Linked DNA regions of Homo sapiens: regions 1 and 3 are each linked to region 2. Evidence: promoter capture Hi-C in 16 types of primary human blood cells and fetal thymus (Javierre and others, 2016). All regions are on one chromosome and are shown on one strand. Each heading gives the region's core, a stretch centred on a gene start or on the middle of the fragment in contact. The rest is flanking DNA. Distances are from core to core; before and after follow the strand shown. Region 1 holds the start of SYT8 (synaptotagmin 8). Region 2 holds the start of TH (tyrosine hydroxylase). Region 3 has its middle 8.1 kb from the start of KRTAP5-6.

Evidence for each region. The method cuts DNA at HindIII sites, captures the fragments that hold promoters and counts their contacts. A CHiCAGO score of 5 or more calls a contact.
Region 1: the fragment with the promoter of SYT8 here is called in contact with the fragment with the promoter of TH in region 2 in 1 of 17 cell types (endothelial precursors); the score reaches 5.7 in endothelial precursors.
Region 3: a fragment that was not itself captured here is called in contact with the fragment with the promoter of TH in region 2 in 3 of 17 cell types (M1 macrophages, naive B cells and monocytes); the score reaches 6.9 in M1 macrophages.

What each region holds. Positions count from the first base shown.
Region 1 is chr11:1,833,540-1,836,239 of GRCh38, reverse strand. It overlaps SYT8 (synaptotagmin 8), which reads right to left and starts at 1,250. Exons shown (of 8, transcript NM_001394072.1): 1 at 1,041-1,250; 2 at 781-944; 3 at 256-354; 4 at 1-114. The coding sequence starts at 1,134. RefSeq lists enhancers at 2,060-2,673, 2,674-2,700. The HindIII fragment of the contact is 25,919 bases long and covers 1-2,700 here.
Region 2 is chr11:2,170,520-2,173,219 of GRCh38, reverse strand. TH (tyrosine hydroxylase) reads left to right here and starts at 1,405. Exons shown (of 13, transcript NM_000360.4): 1 at 1,405-1,523. The coding sequence starts at 1,434. It overlaps MIR4686 (microRNA 4686), which reads right to left and starts at 157; the gene lies at 82-157. The HindIII fragment of the contact is 9,589 bases long and covers 1-2,700 here.
Region 3 is chr11:1,703,965-1,706,664 of GRCh38, reverse strand. No RefSeq gene overlaps it. Among named protein-coding and RNA genes, the nearest start is that of KRTAP5-6, 8.1 kb to the right of the region's middle. The HindIII fragment of the contact is 231 bases long and covers 1,195-1,425 here.

The sequences.
Region 1 (2,700 bases), core at 1-2,500, 340 kb after region 2:
GTGCACTTTTGTCTCATGTCTGTGTCCGGCCTGGGTGGAGACGCTGACCCGGGCATAGGGGTCCACGGTGCCCCCAGGCCTCAGGTCGGCTGCCTGCCTCAGGCCCACCCTGATCTGGGAGCCAGCGGGGTGGGCTCAGCCAAGGGCCCCTGCCCTGTCAGCTCCCCACCACCCAGGGCATGGGGTCTGCCCTTCCCCCGTCACCCTTTCCGGAAACTCGCAGAACCGCTGGTCCTGCGCAGCGGGGCCCTTCACCTCCTGGCTTCCAAAGTCGAACTCCAGGGAGAGCTGCAGGCACCCCCATTGCTGAGCATCCCCCGGGCTGGACTCCAGGCCATCCACATCAGGTTGCACCTGGAGTGAGTTGGGACAAGGGGCAGGTGGTGCTGACATCATGCCTCATCAGAGCCCTGGGCTCCCGGGCAGCCCTTGCATGACATGGGTCAAGACCCCCCGCCTCCAGGCCAGGCCACCCAACAGGCACAAATCGTCGGCTTCGCTCTGTGAGACCGGCCAAACCCACCCAAAACGTGGCATCTGGGGTACCCCCTGCCTTCCTCAAGAACCCGCTGTGGCTCCCTCGGGCCCATGGGGCAGCCCCTGTTGCATGGCCTCCTTCTCACCTCTGTTCACCCACTTTCCCTGCCAGGAAGGTCCTCAACGCCCTGCCTCTGTGGGGGTTAAACCATCCCTGGGGCTGAACTCGCCTCGCTGCCCTGGGCTCTGGAGCCTGGATTTCAAGCCCTCTCTGGACTGAGTGAGCAAGGAGCCGCTCCTCACCAGGTGGGTGGTGGTGGTGCCGCGGGCACTGCCCAGACCCACGGACTCCTTGTCCCTGGGCTTCTTCCTGTGGCGGCGGCAGCAGCAGCAGGCAGCACAGAGGAGGCAGGAGACGAGGAGGACGCCCGCGGCAAGGGCGCCGGCAATGAGAGCCCAGCGGGGCCCTGGGGTAGAGGCCAGGCTGAGTGCATCTGTGGACAGCTGCAGCCCCCACTTGGCTGGGTTATCCCCACACCCCTCTTGGGAATCCCACAACTCACAGGGGGTCCCGGCGACAAGGTCTGGAATAAGCCCAGGTATAGCTGTGGTGCCAGCTGGGGCCGGGGCACTGGGAGAGACTGGTGGGTGCCCCATCTTTCTACCCTGCTGGTTTGGAAGAAGCGGCCCAGGAGGCTGGGTCAGCTGGGAGGGTGGCCCCTCCGGCCCCTGCCCGCTACCCCATCTGACTAGCAGCAGCCAGTGCTGGGTCTGCCAGGGCAAGGAGGCAGCACGGGGTGGCCAGGGGCGAGGGTTCTGTGCAGCAGGAAGCTGAAGGGAGGGAGGCTCTGGACCCTGGCCAAAGCTCCAGCTTAGCTGCCCAGGCCCAGCCTCCCAGCCACCTCCCAGCAGCCCCCAGCCCCAGCCAAGCAGGCAGGGCCTGGGCAGCCTAGTCCCTGCCTTCACCGGACCTCAGAGCACCCTTGCCCCCACTGTAGGATGCGTCCTCCACCAGGAAGCTCTCTCCCTCCCTGCTTCTCTCTCCTGGGCCCTGGACCCTGGGCCCTGCCTGGGGGTCCCATCTCATCCCTGGGGGTCTCATCTCTGCGGTCCCATCACTTCCTTGCCTCTACCCCAGCACGCACCACAGCTGGGGCCCACCATGGTTTGCCAGCCATGCAGGTGGAGCATGTTCACTGCAGCCCCCAGGAACTTGGAAGCCCAGAGGGGTCTGCAGGGTCATGGCGGGAGGAGCAGGGCTGGCTGTCGGCGGAGCTCACTGAGCAGGCCTGGGCTAAAGGTGCATTCCTGGCAGGGGCTCAGGGCCGCAGCGCCTGAGGATGAAGGTGAGGTGGTGGCAGGTAGGGGCAGGGTGCAGCTGGGAGCGGCCAGAACATTCCACACACACTGACTCAGCCGCTGCCTGGACTCGTCCACCTGCCTGCCTGGCCACCCTTCGGCATGTGGGTGGGAAGGAAGGTGGGGCGGGCGCAGCTGCTGGCCCCTGTACCCGCCTGCCTAGGGCCTGGGGAGGGAGCACACCTGGCTGGGCTGGCTCCTGTCACCTACAGGCAGGGGAACCAGGGTGCTACATGGGGCCTACGGTGACCCCAGGCCCAGGGTGACTCCCCAGCTCAGCTCTTCCCTGACTCCACCCGCTCCAGAGAGCAGCAGCCAGCCAGGAGACTCTGTTCCTCCACATTGGCGCCTCCCCTGCTTTGCCCACAAGAGCCTGGGACCCCTCTTGCCATGTCCAAGTCAGCCTGGCCTCAGGGGCCCAGCCCAGGCCATCCCATCGGGAATAAGCAGCTGTTGAGGCCAGATACCCTCACCTCTGCAGCCCCCCAGTCTGGGGCAGAGCAAGGAGACAGACAGAAAGGGACCCTGCCATGACTCCAGACACACACACACACACACACACACACACACACACACACACACACACACGCACGCGCACACAGCATCAATGCCCCACTCCCTGGCAGGCTGGGAGAGGCAGCTGCACTCCCAGAACGGACCCAAACCCCCAGTGTTCAGATGAGGGGGCTGCAGCTCAAGGAGGGGAGGGAGGGTCCAGGTTCCAGCCCCACACGCATGTTGACCCTGTGAGGTCAGCAGGCCAGGTGTTTTACAGACGAGTGGACCGAGGCTGGGAGCTCTAGTTTTGTGGCTCTGGAGGCCAGCATGGCCTGGGAAGCCCAGCCTGTCCCCAGAACACAGGGG
Region 2 (2,700 bases), core at 156-2,655:
GAGTGGGCCCTGAGAGATGCCAGCTCTGGCTGCCACAGTGACCAGCCGGGGTAGGCCTTCGAGAAGTCAGGGAGCGTCTAGGGCTTCTGGCTCCTGCTGGGCCCAGGGTGTCATCTTGGGCTGCCAACACCAGAAAGCCCAGCAGATACAGGAAGCCCCAAGCCCTGTCGGAAACGGTTCTTCTCCAGGAGGGACAGCGGTGGCAGCGTTCAGCCGCAGGCCATGCACTCTGGGGCCACGTCCTTCCCTCTGTACAGTCCAGCATTGTCAAGGCAGGCTCTGGCCATCTCTGCTGACCCCAGAGGGATGGGGAGGCCTCCCCTTCCACCAGAAGGGCCAGAAGCCACCCTGGGCAGGGGCATCACTCTCCCTGGGTGGGGCAGCGGCTGGGAGCAGGAGGTGCCAGTGGGCGTGGGCTGGATGCGGGTGCCTGCGGGGCGGACATGGAACTTGGGGGAGGCTCTAGGCTGGGGTTGTCCTCAAGGGAGTTCTCAGGTCACCCCAGGGTCACCCTCAACCCGGGGCCTGGTGGGGTAGAGGAGAAACTGCAAAGGTCTCTCCAAGGGGAAGGCATCAGGGCCCTCAGCACTGAGGGACGTGCGTGCTCTTTAAAGAAGGGGCCACAGGACCCCGAGGGAAGCCAGGAGCTAGCAGTGGGCCATAGAGGGGCTGAGTGGGGTGGGTGGAAGCCGTCCCTGGCCCTGGTCGCCCTGGCAACCCTGGTGGGGACTGTGATGCAGGAGGTGGCAGCCATTTGGAAACGCGTGGCGTCTCCTTAGAGATGTCTTCTTCAGCCTCCCAGGGTCCTCCACACTGGACAGGTGGGCCCTCCTGGGACATTCTGGACCCCACGGGGCGAGCTTGGGAAGCCGCTGCAAGGGCCACACCTGCAGGGCCCGGGGGCTGTGGGCAGATGGCACTCCTAGGAACCACGTCTATGAGACACACGGCCTGGAATCTTCTGGAGAAGCAAACAAATTGCCTCCTGACATCTGAGGCTGGAGGCTGGATTCCCCGTCTTGGGGCTTTCTGGGTCGGTCTGCCACGAGGTTCTGGTGTTCATTAAAAGTGTGCCCCTGGGCTGCCAGAAAGCCCCTCCCTGTGTGCTCTCTTGAGGGCTGTGGGGCCAAGGGGACCCTGGCTGTCTCAGCCCCCCGCAGAGCACGAGCCCCTGGTCCCCGCAAGCCCGCGGGCTGAGGATGATTCAGACAGGGCTGGGGAGTGAAGGCAATTAGATTCCACGGACGAGCCCTTTCTCCTGCGCCTCCCTCCTTCCTCACCCACCCCCGCCTCCATCAGGCACAGCAGGCAGGGGTGGGGGATGTAAGGAGGGGAAGGTGGGGGACCCAGAGGGGGCTTTGACGTCAGCTCAGCTTATAAGAGGCTGCTGGGCCAGGGCTGTGGAGACGGAGCCCGGACCTCCACACTGAGCCATGCCCACCCCCGACGCCACCACGCCACAGGCCAAGGGCTTCCGCAGGGCCGTGTCTGAGCTGGACGCCAAGCAGGCAGAGGCCATCATGGTAAGAGGGCAGGTAGGTGCCCGGCGGCCGCAGTGGACCGGAGCCCAGGGCTGGTGCCAGCTGCCTCTGCTACTCCCCAGCCTGGCTGGCAGCCCCAGGCTCAGGGTCCATGCAAACCCCTGGGACGCGGCGTGGATGTGGAGGCCTGGGCACAGCGGCATCCCCTGTGCCTGGTGTTTGAGTCCCTGTTGGGGGAGGGTGAGGTGATGCCTGTCCCTGTGTGTGCCCCTCTTAGGCCGACCTCTCTCGGGGGTCGTGTGGGTCTCTGTGTCTTGTTTCATCTTGAATCTTAACGATCGGAATGTGGAAACAAATCCATCCAAAAAATCCAAGATGGCCAGAGGTCCCCGGCTGCTGCACCCAGCCCCCACCCTACTCCCACCTGCCCCTGCCTCCCTCTGCCCCAGCTGCCCTAGTCAGCACCCCAACCAGCCTGCCTGCTTGGGGAGGCAGCCCCAAGGCCCTTCCCAGGCTCTAGCAGCAGCTCATGGTGGGGGGTCCTGGGCAAATAGGGGGCAAAATTCAAAGGGTATCTGGGCTCTGGGGTGATTCCCATTGGCCTGTTCCTCCCTTATTTCCCTCATTCATTCATTCATTCATTCATTCATTCACCATGGAGTCTGTGTTCCCTGTGACCTGCACTCGGAAGCCCTGTGTACAGGGGACTGTGTGGGCCAGGCTGGATAATCGGGAGCTTTTCAGCCCACAGGAGGGGTCTTCGGTGCCTCCTTGGGCACTCAGAACCTTGGGCTCCCTGGCACATTTAAAATGGGTTTTTATTTATGGACCTTGATTGAAATGTGGTGTGAGTTGTAGCAGTGTCATTTCCAGGTACCTTCTCAGGGACACAGGGCGCCCTCCCCCGTCCTCCCCCGCCCTCCCCTACCCTCCCCCACCAGGCTCCCCATCAGGCATCCCCTCCCCAGGGCGCCCCGGGGCCCAGCCTCACAGGCTCTCCGTGGCCTGGAACTGCAGCCCCAGCTGCATCCTACACCCCCACCCCAAGGGTAAGTAAGAGGGGACTCTGGGAGGGGCTTCTGCTGCTCCCCTTCATGTTCCACAACCCTGGAAGCTCAGGATGAAGCTGATTCTTCTCTTACAAGGGGCCCAGAGCCTTCTTGGGAGTTCAGCTCCAAGGGATGAGCCCCAGGTGTCTGCCAAGTCCCCCTCTGTCCAG
Region 3 (2,700 bases), core at 61-2,560, 470 kb after region 2:
TGAAAGTGGAGACTTTTACTGAGCAATGAAAACAGCTCTCAGCAGAGAGGGGAACTGGAAAGGGGACAGGGAGGGCAGGTCGTCTTCCCCAAAGTCAGGAGATCTCTTCCTTGAAGTCAGGCCTTCTCTCTCTCTCTACCAACTGAGTCTGGAGTCTTTATAGGCCCAGGACGGGGGCAGGCCAGGCCATAGGTAGTATTGGAAAAGGCAGTATTTGATTGGTTAAAAAGGCATTATTCAAAATGAACCAATCCGGAGCGAGCAGGCAAACAAGAATAGAAGTTTTCACTCTGGGCTGCAGGTTTCAGGATGTTTTGGCTTGAAGGTGAGGTTTCACTGGGGACCCACCCCCATCTGCCTGGGATTTGTCTGCCTCCTGCCTCTATTATATCCATGGGAGGAATTTAGTTTATAGTTTAACTTGTAAGCAAGGATGATAACGGTCCCGCCCTAAAACAAATCCCCTCCTTTTTGGGGAGCTGAAACTGCCTTTATAGGACTAATGAAAGACCACAAGATTAGAATTACAGGAGGGCATGAGTTCTGCTAAAATATAGGCATAGTTTCTATAATCCCCCTCTGCTTAGGAGTCATTTGTCCAGAGATCACAAGATTTGTGGCTTCCCCAGTTGCTCCTATAGATAATATCACTGTGGTAGAATTAAGATTGGTCTTTTGAGGTGGTTTTCCAACTGACCCCATGCAGACTCGTGACTCACGACTTGTTTAACCGTTCACCCGTTGAAGGATGTCTGGGTTGCTTTCACTTTGGGGTTGTTATCCACCCAGAGGCAGATTCAGGGCACAAGGACCATTTTCCACACCCCTGTGATTGCCCCCGCAACCAATGAGGAGCACCCATTCCCCAGCCCCCCACCCACCACACTGTCCTGGAAAAACCCTAACCTTCAAGCCTTCAGGGAGACGGGTTTGAGTGATCATTCCAGTTCTTCCACCTGGCAGGCCTTGCGTTAATTAAACATTTCATTTACTGCAATACCATGTTCTCAGAGTGAACTGGTTTTGTCTGTGCAGCGGGCGGGAAGAGCCTGTCGGGCAATTACAGAAACTGGAGGAGAGATAGTCTTGCATTCCTGGCTGTACAGCCTGGAGTGGAGCTTCTGTCTCACTGGGCTGGGAGAGGGCACACGCATTGGCTCAGATACCACAGACTCACACAGTTCTCACTAAGCTTTAGTCGATTTTCTTGAATAAATGTTTCTCTATTTGAAATGGCTACAGGGCCATTTGCAGATGCTTTAAATGGTTGTTGGGGGTGGGGTTTCGTTTGTTTTTGTTTTTAAAGTCTTCACCAGTTTCACATGGAAGTGGATCTCTGGAGTTCCCCCTCATTGTCACGCTGCAGTGGGACTGCCCTGTGACTTTATTATTTCATAGCATTTGAACATAAGATAATCACAAGCTTTCAAAGGACTAAATGTTCGATGAAGAAAATGGCACAGAAAAAAAAAATGTCCCTTCTAAATAAGGACTCACTTGGTCCTCCACCAGCAACCAGGAGCACTGCCAAGTGTGTCTCTCTCCTTATGACGTGACCTTTTATCTTTAAAGGACACTGAATTTCACTCACATTATTATTTCTTACACAGTGTGTTTTTATTATTCAAGGTCACTAAGACTTTCTCCTGTTTTATTCCAAATGTTTTATTGTTTTATATTCAACATTTAGGTCTATGATGGGCATAGAGTTAATTTTATATAAAGTATGAGGTTGAGGTTGAGGTTTTGTTTTCGTTTTGTCTACGGCGGTTCAATTGTTCCAATGCCATTTTTTGGAAACGGTTCTCCTTTCGCGCGCTGGTATGAATGCGTTCCCCAAAATTCATGCGCTGTAACTTAACCCCTGTTATGGTGTTACTAAGAGGTGGGGTCTCTTGAGAAGTGATCAAGTCAGGGCTTTGCTCTCAGGCATAGATTAGTGCCTCATTAAAGGGCTGGGGGGGATGAGCTTGGGTCCTTTTTGCCCCTTATGTTTTCCACCAAAAGGACACAGCAAAGAGCCTCCACCAGATGCAGAATACTGGCACCTTGATCTGGGGACGTCTAGCCTCCAAAACTGTGAGAAATGTACTTCTATTGTTTGTAAAATACCCAGTCACAGGTATTTTGTGATTGCAGCAGACACTTCTCCATTTAGTTGTCTTGCCCCTTTGTCATAAATTAGCGCAGTCTTGTGTGTGCGAGTGACATCTCAACTCCGTGCTTTTCCCTTGATCTGTGTGTCTACCCCTCTGCCCATACCACACTGTCTACATTGCTGTCGCTTTATGGAATGTCTCAAAGTCAGCTAATGTCATTCTTCCAACTATATTTCTTGTTTCAAAATTGTTTTGGCTATTCTATTTTCTTTTCTTTTTTAAATGTTTTCTTATTACACTTTAAGTTCTAGGGTACATGTGCACAACGTGCAGGTTTGTTACATATGTATACATGTGCCATGTTGGTGTGCTGTACCCGTTAACTCGTCATTTACATTAGGTATATCTCCTAATGCTCTCCCTCCCCCCTCCCCCCACCCCACGACAGGCCCCAGTGTGTGATGTTCCCCTTCCTGTGTCCAAGTGTTCTCATTGTTCAGTTCCCACCTATGAGTGAGAACATGTGGTGTTTGGTTTTCTGTCCTTGCGATAGTTTGCTGAGAATGATGGTTTTCAGTTTCATCCATGTCCCTACAAAGGA